2 separate regions of the Homo sapiens genome follow, and region 2 is linked to region 1. The links are contacts of gene promoters, found by promoter capture Hi-C in blood cells and fetal thymus (Javierre and others, 2016). All regions are on one chromosome and are shown on one strand. The core of a region is centred on a gene start or on the middle of the fragment in contact, and the rest is flanking DNA. Distances in the headings are between cores, read along the strand shown. Region 1 holds the start of KCND2 (potassium voltage-gated channel subfamily D member 2). Region 2 has its middle 650 kb from the start of LINC02476.

Evidence for each region. Contacts are between HindIII fragments. The CHiCAGO score rates a contact against its expected background, and 5 or more counts as called.
Region 2: a fragment that was not itself captured here is called in contact with the fragment with the promoter of KCND2 in region 1 in 1 of 17 cell types (endothelial precursors); the score reaches 8.2 in endothelial precursors.

What each region holds. Positions count from the first base shown.
Region 1 is chr7:120,271,250-120,276,168 of GRCh38, reverse strand. KCND2 (potassium voltage-gated channel subfamily D member 2) reads right to left here and starts at 2,994. Exons shown (of 6, transcript NM_012281.3): 1 at 422-2,994. The coding sequence starts at 1,536. RefSeq lists an enhancer at 2,229-2,298 and silencers at 2,739-2,888, 3,808-3,907. The HindIII fragment of the contact is 3,977 bases long and covers 1-3,168 here.
Region 2 is chr7:119,253,729-119,258,134 of GRCh38, reverse strand. No RefSeq gene overlaps it. Among named protein-coding and RNA genes, the nearest start is that of LINC02476, 650 kb to the left of the region's middle. The HindIII fragment of the contact is 519 bases long and covers 1,063-1,581 here.

The sequences.
Region 1 (4,919 bases), core at 1,745-4,244:
ATAGTTCAAGTATACCTGGAAACTTTTCATTTAAATGCATTGAACCACTTTATAGACATTTCAATATACATTGTATATATTTGTGTCTTTATTAGGGCATAGATTTTGTTTTTCATTGTCATATTTTTATATATTAATATAAATATTGCTACTACTTTCATATATTCAGGAATTCTAAAATTTCTTTGTATCTTTATCACTTTCAGGCATCAACATTTGCCAGCAATGCCTTAATACTTCAACGTGTGTATTATACCCATTTCACAGATGAAAAGAGTTTTGCCAAACCATTTAGATAATGCTTTCCTAAACTCAGGAAAGAAAACAAATGATTTCCCCGGAGTTACCATGTAACCTCGATGGGTCCACAATCGCCTCACCCATACCCAACCTCCATCCCATTTCCCATTATGGCACCTACCCTAGTGTTGTCATGGTGACGATGGTATACCAGAAGGCTGCAGGGATGCTGGTGAACTTGCTAGCCGAAGACCCCTTCTCTGCGTAGAACATAACTGTAGCGAAGATGATGATAGCCATGGTGAGCGAGAAAAGCAAGAAGCCCAATTCTGAGGCACAACTCTTCAGTGTGTACCCCAGGATGCGCAGGCCTTGAGAGTGGCGGGAAAACTTAAAGATCCTGAAGACCCGGAAGACTCGGAGTGTGACAAAGGCTCCGCTGACGTCCTCATTGTCTGTCATCACCAGCCCAATGTAATAAGGCAGGATGGCCACCACGTCGATGATACTCATGACACTACGCACAAAACGGTAACGACTAGGCGCTGCAGCCAGGCGAAGCAAATACTCAACTGTGAAGATCATGACGCAGGCCGTGTCCAAGCAGAAGAAGGCCACAGCATACCGCTCTCCACAGGGCAGTTCTTTAATGTGACCTGGGCTTGATCCGCACGGCACTGTTTCCACCACATTCGCGATGACAGAGACGGCAATGAAAAACCCCGTGACATAGTAGAACACCAGGGCCATCGTGCTGGTGTGGGGGTTCTCGAAGGCCCTCCAGACCCTCTGCCTTGCAGTCATGGTGGGCAAGGCGCTCTCCCCAGCGGTGTCGGTATCCGCGTCGTCCTGCAGGCGCTCGGCGTTCTCTCGCCTGCGATCCTTGTACTCCTCATAACAGCAGTCGCCGATGATTTCCGGGATGAGGCCAAAGAAGGCCAGTTCTTCATCGTAAGCAGAGATGCACTCGTGGCGAGGATAGTGGAGCTTCCCAGTGCGGTAGAAATTCAGGATGTGGCGGAAGATGTCTGGGTCACGGTCAAAGAAATACTGCTGAGTTTCTGGGTGGTAGAAAAAGTCCCTCTCAGAACTGCCCAGTAGAGTGTCTGGGTAACGTTCCAGGGTGTCCTGCCACGTCTGGAAGCGGGTGCCACTCACATTCAGCACAATGAGAGCATCTTGGGTCCTTTTCCTCTCCTGCCTCGGGGGAGCCGGCATAGGCCCCGAGGCCACAGGCATCCACCCGATAGCCGCTGCCCTTGCAAAAGGCAGCCACGCTGCCACCCCCGCCGCCATGATTACTTGAAGCGGAAGGAAGAAGGGTAACGAGGCGTCTACAATGGGTCACCGAAGCAGCCAAAAGTCACCCACTTCCTCCAGTCAAGCAAAGTACTAGTGAGAAACGTGGTCCAGAGGTGTAACTCTTATTCCAAGATAGGGCTCCTGGTAAAGTCACAGTTCTCAGAAGGGCAACTTTCCCTCCAAGACAGGTATTTGGAATAATGGCAACAAAATACAACGTCCTAACAATCACCCTCAACAGAACCCAGCCAAATCTCTTCCTGCAGGTGGGCTAGGCCACCCTCTGGCACAAATAAGCACACAGGTGCAGCCGTTTCTTCAAACAGGTGTTTTTGATTTCTCCCCGGCACAGTCTGGATAATATAGGGTCAGTATGTGGAGTGTAGGATAGAGAAGACGAACGAGAGTCACCCAATAGAATTCTTTCGACGAATTAGGGAACCCTTACACCTACCCTTCTCACTCTTTCAAACCTTCCTTTCCAAGTAGCCCTTCCCGCCAAAGGAGTCTCAAAAAGGCGACCTGTTGTTGTAGCTCAGGAGATGCGGTCACAGCCGCTGCCCCACGTCTCTCTTTGGGGGTCCAGCTGCTGCTGCCTCTACTCCTCGGGCTGTATTTGCAGAGATGGAGGTGATGTGCAGTGGTTACGGTGGGGGGCGTTAATAGAGATTCTCCTCCCCCACGTCTACAAACACCCTCTGTGTCTGCCAAAAGCGTTCGCCCAATCGCCCCTTCACTCTCTTTTCAAGTTCAGCTCAGGTGCAGTGTGACAGTTACAGAGCTCAGGAGCTGGCAGCCGCCGCCGCCGTGGCGGCAGCAGCATCTGCTTCCGCGCAGAACGCGCCGCTCCCGCGGTACATACCTGGCCAAGTGCGCGCCGGGGCTTAGTTGCATAGAGACTTTCTCCTCGCCGTGCACCCGGAAAGGGAAGAGGAGAGAAAGCAGCTCGCGAGCAGCCGAATCCGATGCGCCGAGAGAGCATAAATAAAGCTCAAGCGAGCTCTTCTTTCCCTTCCCCCATCCCTCCGTGCCTCCCTCCTCCTTTTCACCTTCCAAAAGCCAGGCGCAGGCGAGCAGAGCAGCAGCAACAAGTTCAAAAGGTGCGGGGGAGGCGAGAACGGAGGGGACTCGCTCCTGCCAACTTACTGCGGGGCCACTGTCGCGGGAGCCTGGCCAGCGCGGTGCGGGGCTGCGGGGCGGCGGGGCTGCGGGGCGGCCGGGCGGGCGGCGTTGGCGCGGTGGGGCCGGGGCCGGGGCCGGCACGGGCTCTCGTCCGAGCGCGGAGGCAGAAGGCGCTCGGCAGCGCGGGGGCGCGGGAGGGCTGCTAGCTGCTTCCCCGCCAGTGGGTGGTCCTGCATCTCCCCGGGCTCCCCGCGCTGCTCTGCTAGTGCGATCAATAAATAAGGAGAAAATAAATAAATAACCGCGCGCACGCCCCGCCACGCAGGTTAGGAAAGGCGTCTCCTGCCTTTCCCTCGGCTTGACCTTTCTCCGCCCCCGCCCCCTCGGGCTCCTCTCGCTCCACCCCAGCCACCCACCAACCCCGGCGCAAAATGTCACCGAGGGAGAGCATCCAGGTGGATCTGCTGGGGAGAAAAGCGAGCCTCGGATGAACAAAGGGAAGCTTCACGTGCTGGGCTGCGGTGGTTTGGTGGAGGAGAGGAGAAAGGGGACCCGTGCCTTGCTTCTGCCTCTCGAGTCCCGGTTCAAGGCGAGCGTGGGAAAATGGGGGGAAAGAGAGCGAGAGAAGCTGGGAAGGAGGGTGAGCGGAGCGGAATGCGCAGGAATTGGTTGTCTTCTGGGGGCGACTGGAAGGCAAGACCCGCAAAGCTCCGACGCGGAATTTTTAAGTGCATTTCCTCTTTCTGTTTTTATTTATTTTCAAAACCAGATTGTTAACGTTGCAGGGATTGATATGCCATCTGTCCAACTTGCCAAAAAATCAGAGACTCTCCTCGATCGAGGTCTTGACACAACTCCTTTTCCCGTCCTTTACGAATAACAGGGATGTGGAGCCCTTTTCTAAATGTCATCGTCAAGGGGCGTGCGTCTCTGAAAGTTTGCGTCCCCTTCATCCTCTCTGCGCATCACTGCGCATATTTAAAATAGTTAAAAGAGTTAAAGGTGTTCGTATGAGGGGTTACTGAGGTAGAGAGACACAGGAAAATTGTCGCTACCAACCTTTTTGTTTTTCGCGTACCCCGCCCCCGAGTCATTAGGAATCATCCTTAAAACCAAACGTAACACATACAAGCCACTAGATGGCGTGGATGGCGAGAAGTTAAATCTGCACCTAAGGTTTGGATGCTTTAGGAAGGTGAAGGATCAAAATTAACTGGTCCAACAGAGAGTCAGATCACATAAACATCCCCAAACCCCTTCGCTGCCACCCACCTTTTTTGTGTTTATGTGACATATACTACTTAGGCTTGAGTCTGCATTTGGATAGTTGTGGGATGAGATGTGGAGAGTTTCCTTTTGAAATTCCTTTGAAAATTAAATCTAGATTACTGAATCATCATCATCATAGTAATTAAGATCTTTGGCAATAATGAGGCTTCATCTGTATTGATGAAGAATAGTAGCCTAATTTCTACCTAAAAATTACTTTTCATGGCTTGGTTTGACTGCCCTTGGTTTGTAAAATAAGTGGACTGTGTGTTGTACTTTACGGAAATTGACTTTTAAGCCCTAGAGATTACAGGCATGATGTGTCAACCTTGAAAATTTGAAATGGGATACGTCAAAGAAAATATATAAACTAAAAAATGAGTATAGAAAATAACCAGAGAATTTAAAATATCCTTATCATGTACAGGATTTTCTGTAGAGATAAAAGGGTATTTTTTGTTTGTTTATTTGTTTACAGAATAGAGATTTAAGGAATCCTGTGTCAGTAGTAATGAAGTCAGAGCTAATGCACCATTTAAGTTTGAGGACAAGGAACTGAAGACACCTGCTCTTTATCTATTTGTTTAAGTGAAAGATGCTTGTTAACCAATCTATATAGCCTGCATACCTGAAAACAAACACACAAGCATGTTACCTGGAAAATGGAAATGAGGGGCTTACTACCAATTAATATAAGAAAACCAACCCCTCGTTAGTCCAAACAGTAAGGTGGCACTATGACAGGTGCTGGGCATGGAATCCAGAGGGTGGAGCGCCATGAATATTTAATCAATGCCAATAATGGCATGCTTTCCTGTAAAGATGGGGCGAGGAACCTAAATAGAGCCTTTAAAACTGTGTGGGAAACTGAATGCTTACAAATGTAAAAGTAGGAGCTTAACTCACAAAAGCCCCAAAGAAGCAAGAACATAATATGTACAGTTTTTAAGAAGGTACTGGGATCTGCCCTCCTGCATCTTCAACAA
Region 2 (4,406 bases), core at 73-2,572, 1.0 Mb after region 1:
TGCCAGTAACACAGACTGGAATAGGGACTGTGGTGCCTTTTACAGGCTGGCCCGTGGAAAACTGGCAGGGCTTCCTGCCTCTCCAGGGCCTCCTCTCTGCTGAGAGCTGAACACTTGAAGGGATGACTTGCCTATAGAGAGGAGCTACCCACCTGCAGGTCTCCTCTGAGCTTTTCTAACACTCAGCAAAGCTCCTCTTCATCTTCCTTTCCCTCCACTTGTCTGCGTACCTCATTCTTCCTGGGTGGAGGACAAGAACTCGGGAAAAGGCACCGTCGGCCACAGAGGTTTCTGGCCAGAAAAGCAACACCCAAAGATCCCATAACAATACCAACATTTTTATCTCAAGTACTTTTTCTTACTTCTTTGATTTTCTCATATTAAAAAGGCATTTGCTAATTGTGGACATGAAGAATGAGAAAAGGAATGAGGGTTATCTTAGTGTTAACACAAATCCTATTCTGTTAGTTGAGTAAAATGGATTTGACAACGGAATATTTTAAACCAAATACATGAGGTTGTCCAAGAAATCCCCATTTTCTATGTGTTTTATGGGGAAATATAATTATTTGCTGTAAAAACCATCTGCTTTTCTTGCCAACAACTTCACTTTTAATCATTGTTTCAAGAGAATGAATAATAAAGAGACATAAAAGCAAATAAAGGGAAGAGCCTTATTTGTATTTACAATCTCAGAACCAACAACGCCTTACACTTACACTTTGTTTCCGAGAACATGAAATCTTAAAACAAAAGTCAATCCCAAATAGGTTGCTCACTAATAACTTTATATGTGCTTTCTTCAAATCCAAAATAAATTTAAAATACCTAATATTTTATTTATGATACACTATAGTTAAAATTACAAAGTAATAATATCAACTACTTCATAAATCTGTTTTTAATCCATTTTGCTGGCTTTATAGGCAGAACCTAGTAAAGTTAAGGAAGATAAATACTAAGTACTGCAGGTGTTTAATCAACACAGTCCCTTTTGTATTCTATGATTTGGCTCTTCTTTTCATGATATATCATCATAAAATATGGATTTTGTTCAAAGCTTTCCATTAAGAATCCAAGATCATTACTGAAGGTGAGGATAGAAACGAAGAGTTTTTCTCCGGACAATCCTCAGCTCTGGTATACTCTTGCCTTTCCACCTCATCAGCTCTACCAAGTCTGAATTTCCTGACTTTTAAGGCACTATGCCAGCTCCATCTGTTTACTCACCTAATATGAGTTAAATTTGTTTAAGGATGAGTTTACCTACTAAGGGATTATCTTTTATTTGCTTATTATTAGCAGCAGGAAACAGTGTGTAGTTTTGTCCATGTTCTGTATATATGTGGGTTCAGAGGTTTAAATGATGGGAAATGGAATATATGCTTTTTTTAAAAAGCAATATAATTTACATTAATTAATTTAACATACGGTCTTGGGTCCAGCCAAAGCCAGGGTTCCACTGTACAGTACATTTTCTCCCTAAAGCCAAGGAAGGAAATGAGAAAATCTGTCTTTGTGTGTCTTGCCAGCTTTTTTGTTCTTTTAAAAGTGTTATTATACCTTAGTAAGAAGCAAGCTTCATATGTTTTATGTTTATCTCTTTTTCATTCATAATCATGTTTTCATATATTAGAAATACTTTGTCTTTTATCAGTAAGTCTATATTATGAAATAATTTACTCAGCTCTTAATATTGACATCTACTTCAGGGATGACTGTACAATTTTTGACATAATATCAAATTCTTGCACTCATACACACACACAAATCCTCCAAATTTTTACAATATTAAAGTTTTAAAATTATTTTAAATACATTAGTATGGACAAAATATAAGCATAAAATTATAAAATACTAAATGAAAGGCTCTCATGACAACAGTACCATCACTACATTGTTCCCAAAGTAAAACTGATGGTCAGATGGCAAAGTGCCATCAGCATTAGTGTTATGTAACAGTTGCAAAGCTACCAACATGAAAAGGTTCACTTTGGACACTTAGATTTCACTGTTTGTTATAATACAAGTGAGAGGTCTCCAAAATATTAAAGATGAGCATGTTAATTAGATGGTAAGATGTTAAATATTTTATTTTCTATAGATTTGAAAATGTGTTACTGTTAAAACAAAAGAAGCCATCATTAATCAGGCTGGTTTAGAAGCCTTCTTTCAATAATATGATGTAATACAACCTAATTATTTTATAATTATAATTTATGTACTAATCATTGCACTTCCAAATACAAAATTATGCTGTTTTTGTTTTCATTTTTCTCCCCTTGTAGAGCTTGAAACCTGTAAAATGCTAAGCTAATGATATTTTCCTTTTAAATGTTAAAAAGATAGCTATTTATACTGGTTCAAAGTAAAATTTAAAAGCCTAAAATATTTTATCAACTATGAAATATTTTAATTAAATCATATTTATATTATTATGTGAATTAAATATTTCCATTATAAATATCATAAGTATATTTATACATTTCCATTATAAATTTTATAAATATATTTACATAGGCTTACTTTGGATATATTTTTGTCAGTTTTTCAGATGAGCTGATATGACAGAATCATTTACTTTTCAAATAAACATGATGCAGCATTTCAAATGCACATTACTAATAATTCACTCTTTAGTTGATGGGTCTTTTATTGTATTTATTTCCAAAATCCCAGTTTCTTCTATTATCTTTTCCTTAGAAAGTAGATACATTTGAAAAAACATGGTTATAAAAGTAAATTTAAATCTCCCATTTCTCCAAAGATAGGAGAGAAAAACAATCAACAGTTTGTCCATGGAGAGAAAAATTTTCCATTCCAAGGATATAAACACCTTCATGAAGATTAATATTTTCTACCTAGTATTTAAAATTTCAGCATTGGTATTAGGGGTAAGACAGACTATTTGTTAGATCACTCTTGAATTAAAAAAATAATAATTGCTGTGAATCCAAGTAACACAAGCCTGCCTGACAAACAGAATGACATTTCATATTCTAAAATATGTCACAATTATATTTGAATCTAATTTAATTTTTCTCCTACCAGCAGGACATCTTAAAACAGATGCTTTTAAGAATGTCATACACATCTACTCTGTTTATCTCACATTGCTTTGCTTCCTTTTTGTTTTTAATTGATTCTCTCTATGTAGCAGCAGTCTTATAATTCCTGACTGTTTCAGTAACCCCATGACTCATCACATAAATTACTCTGTAAAATTGCTTGTACAATCTATACCCTACCTAGATATTTCACATGTTAGGGCTGACAAATAGAGACTATCACAGAATTAAACTTAGGACTGTGAACCAAAGTTAAAACTCAACTAAGTAAAACTGTATTTTGTGAACTGAGCTTAGGTGAGCTGAGGTTATTAATTTAATATTTCTCAGTGCACTTCCTATCTGCAAAATGGGAGGATTAGATGAAATATTAGTTAAGTTCTGAGTAAGAAGTTTGAATCTGGATTCTAGTCACTTAAAAGTTAGAATAAGATGACTTTGTCTATTCAAAAATACATTTATATAATTAATTTTCAAAAATTTTACTTTTATAGTCTTATCTTTAATACTTATGTATCTTTATGTTTAAAAATATTTTAATATGTGACTATATCTGAAGACCAAATAATTTGGTATCATCACCAATAGAAGTGCATCCTTCTGTGTTCAGACAAGAGCACTGAATTGAATCAGCTTTGTCTTTATAAGGGCCACCGGGTAAAAGTCTTACTTCACAATTAATCTCTGAAATTTTAGGGAAAGTTTTTATTCTTTATCTATTTAATGAAGAATTTGTTAAAACTGATTCTTTATAAGAAATTTATTTAGTCTCCTTTCTAGTTAACAAATCTAAAGACTGAATATAGCAGAAAGTCATATATGTTCCAACTATGTAAGAAAACATACAAATGAATAATTTTTTCAAAGCATAACTCAGAACTAGGGTTAAATTTGAACCAGGTGAGTCAGTCTTAATAATATCCACTTATTATCATTTCTTAAAACCCTATACTGAAGGCAATCAGAAACCAGAAATATACTAGTTAAACTTGCATCAGTGCCTTTGAGACAGTAATTTCATTTTTATCAGTTTAACTTAAGTGGCTTTCTCAAATATGATAGAGCTTAAACATCCTTAAATGAAAGAACTCTGTATACAGTGTTTAAACAAAAATCATGGGCAAAATAAAGCAAATCCAGACTTATTCTGGTGTTTTGTTTGTTTGTTTACAGTCATTGAATTTTCTAGCAGCATTTATTTTACCACCACTCTACCTTGGTAGTATCAGAAGCAATACAAAGCAGACATTTCCCACCTGGGGAGATTAGGGTATCTGTAAGCATCAGCACTGCAGAACTCATCTGAAAATGCACATCTTTATTGTAATGTTATGTGTA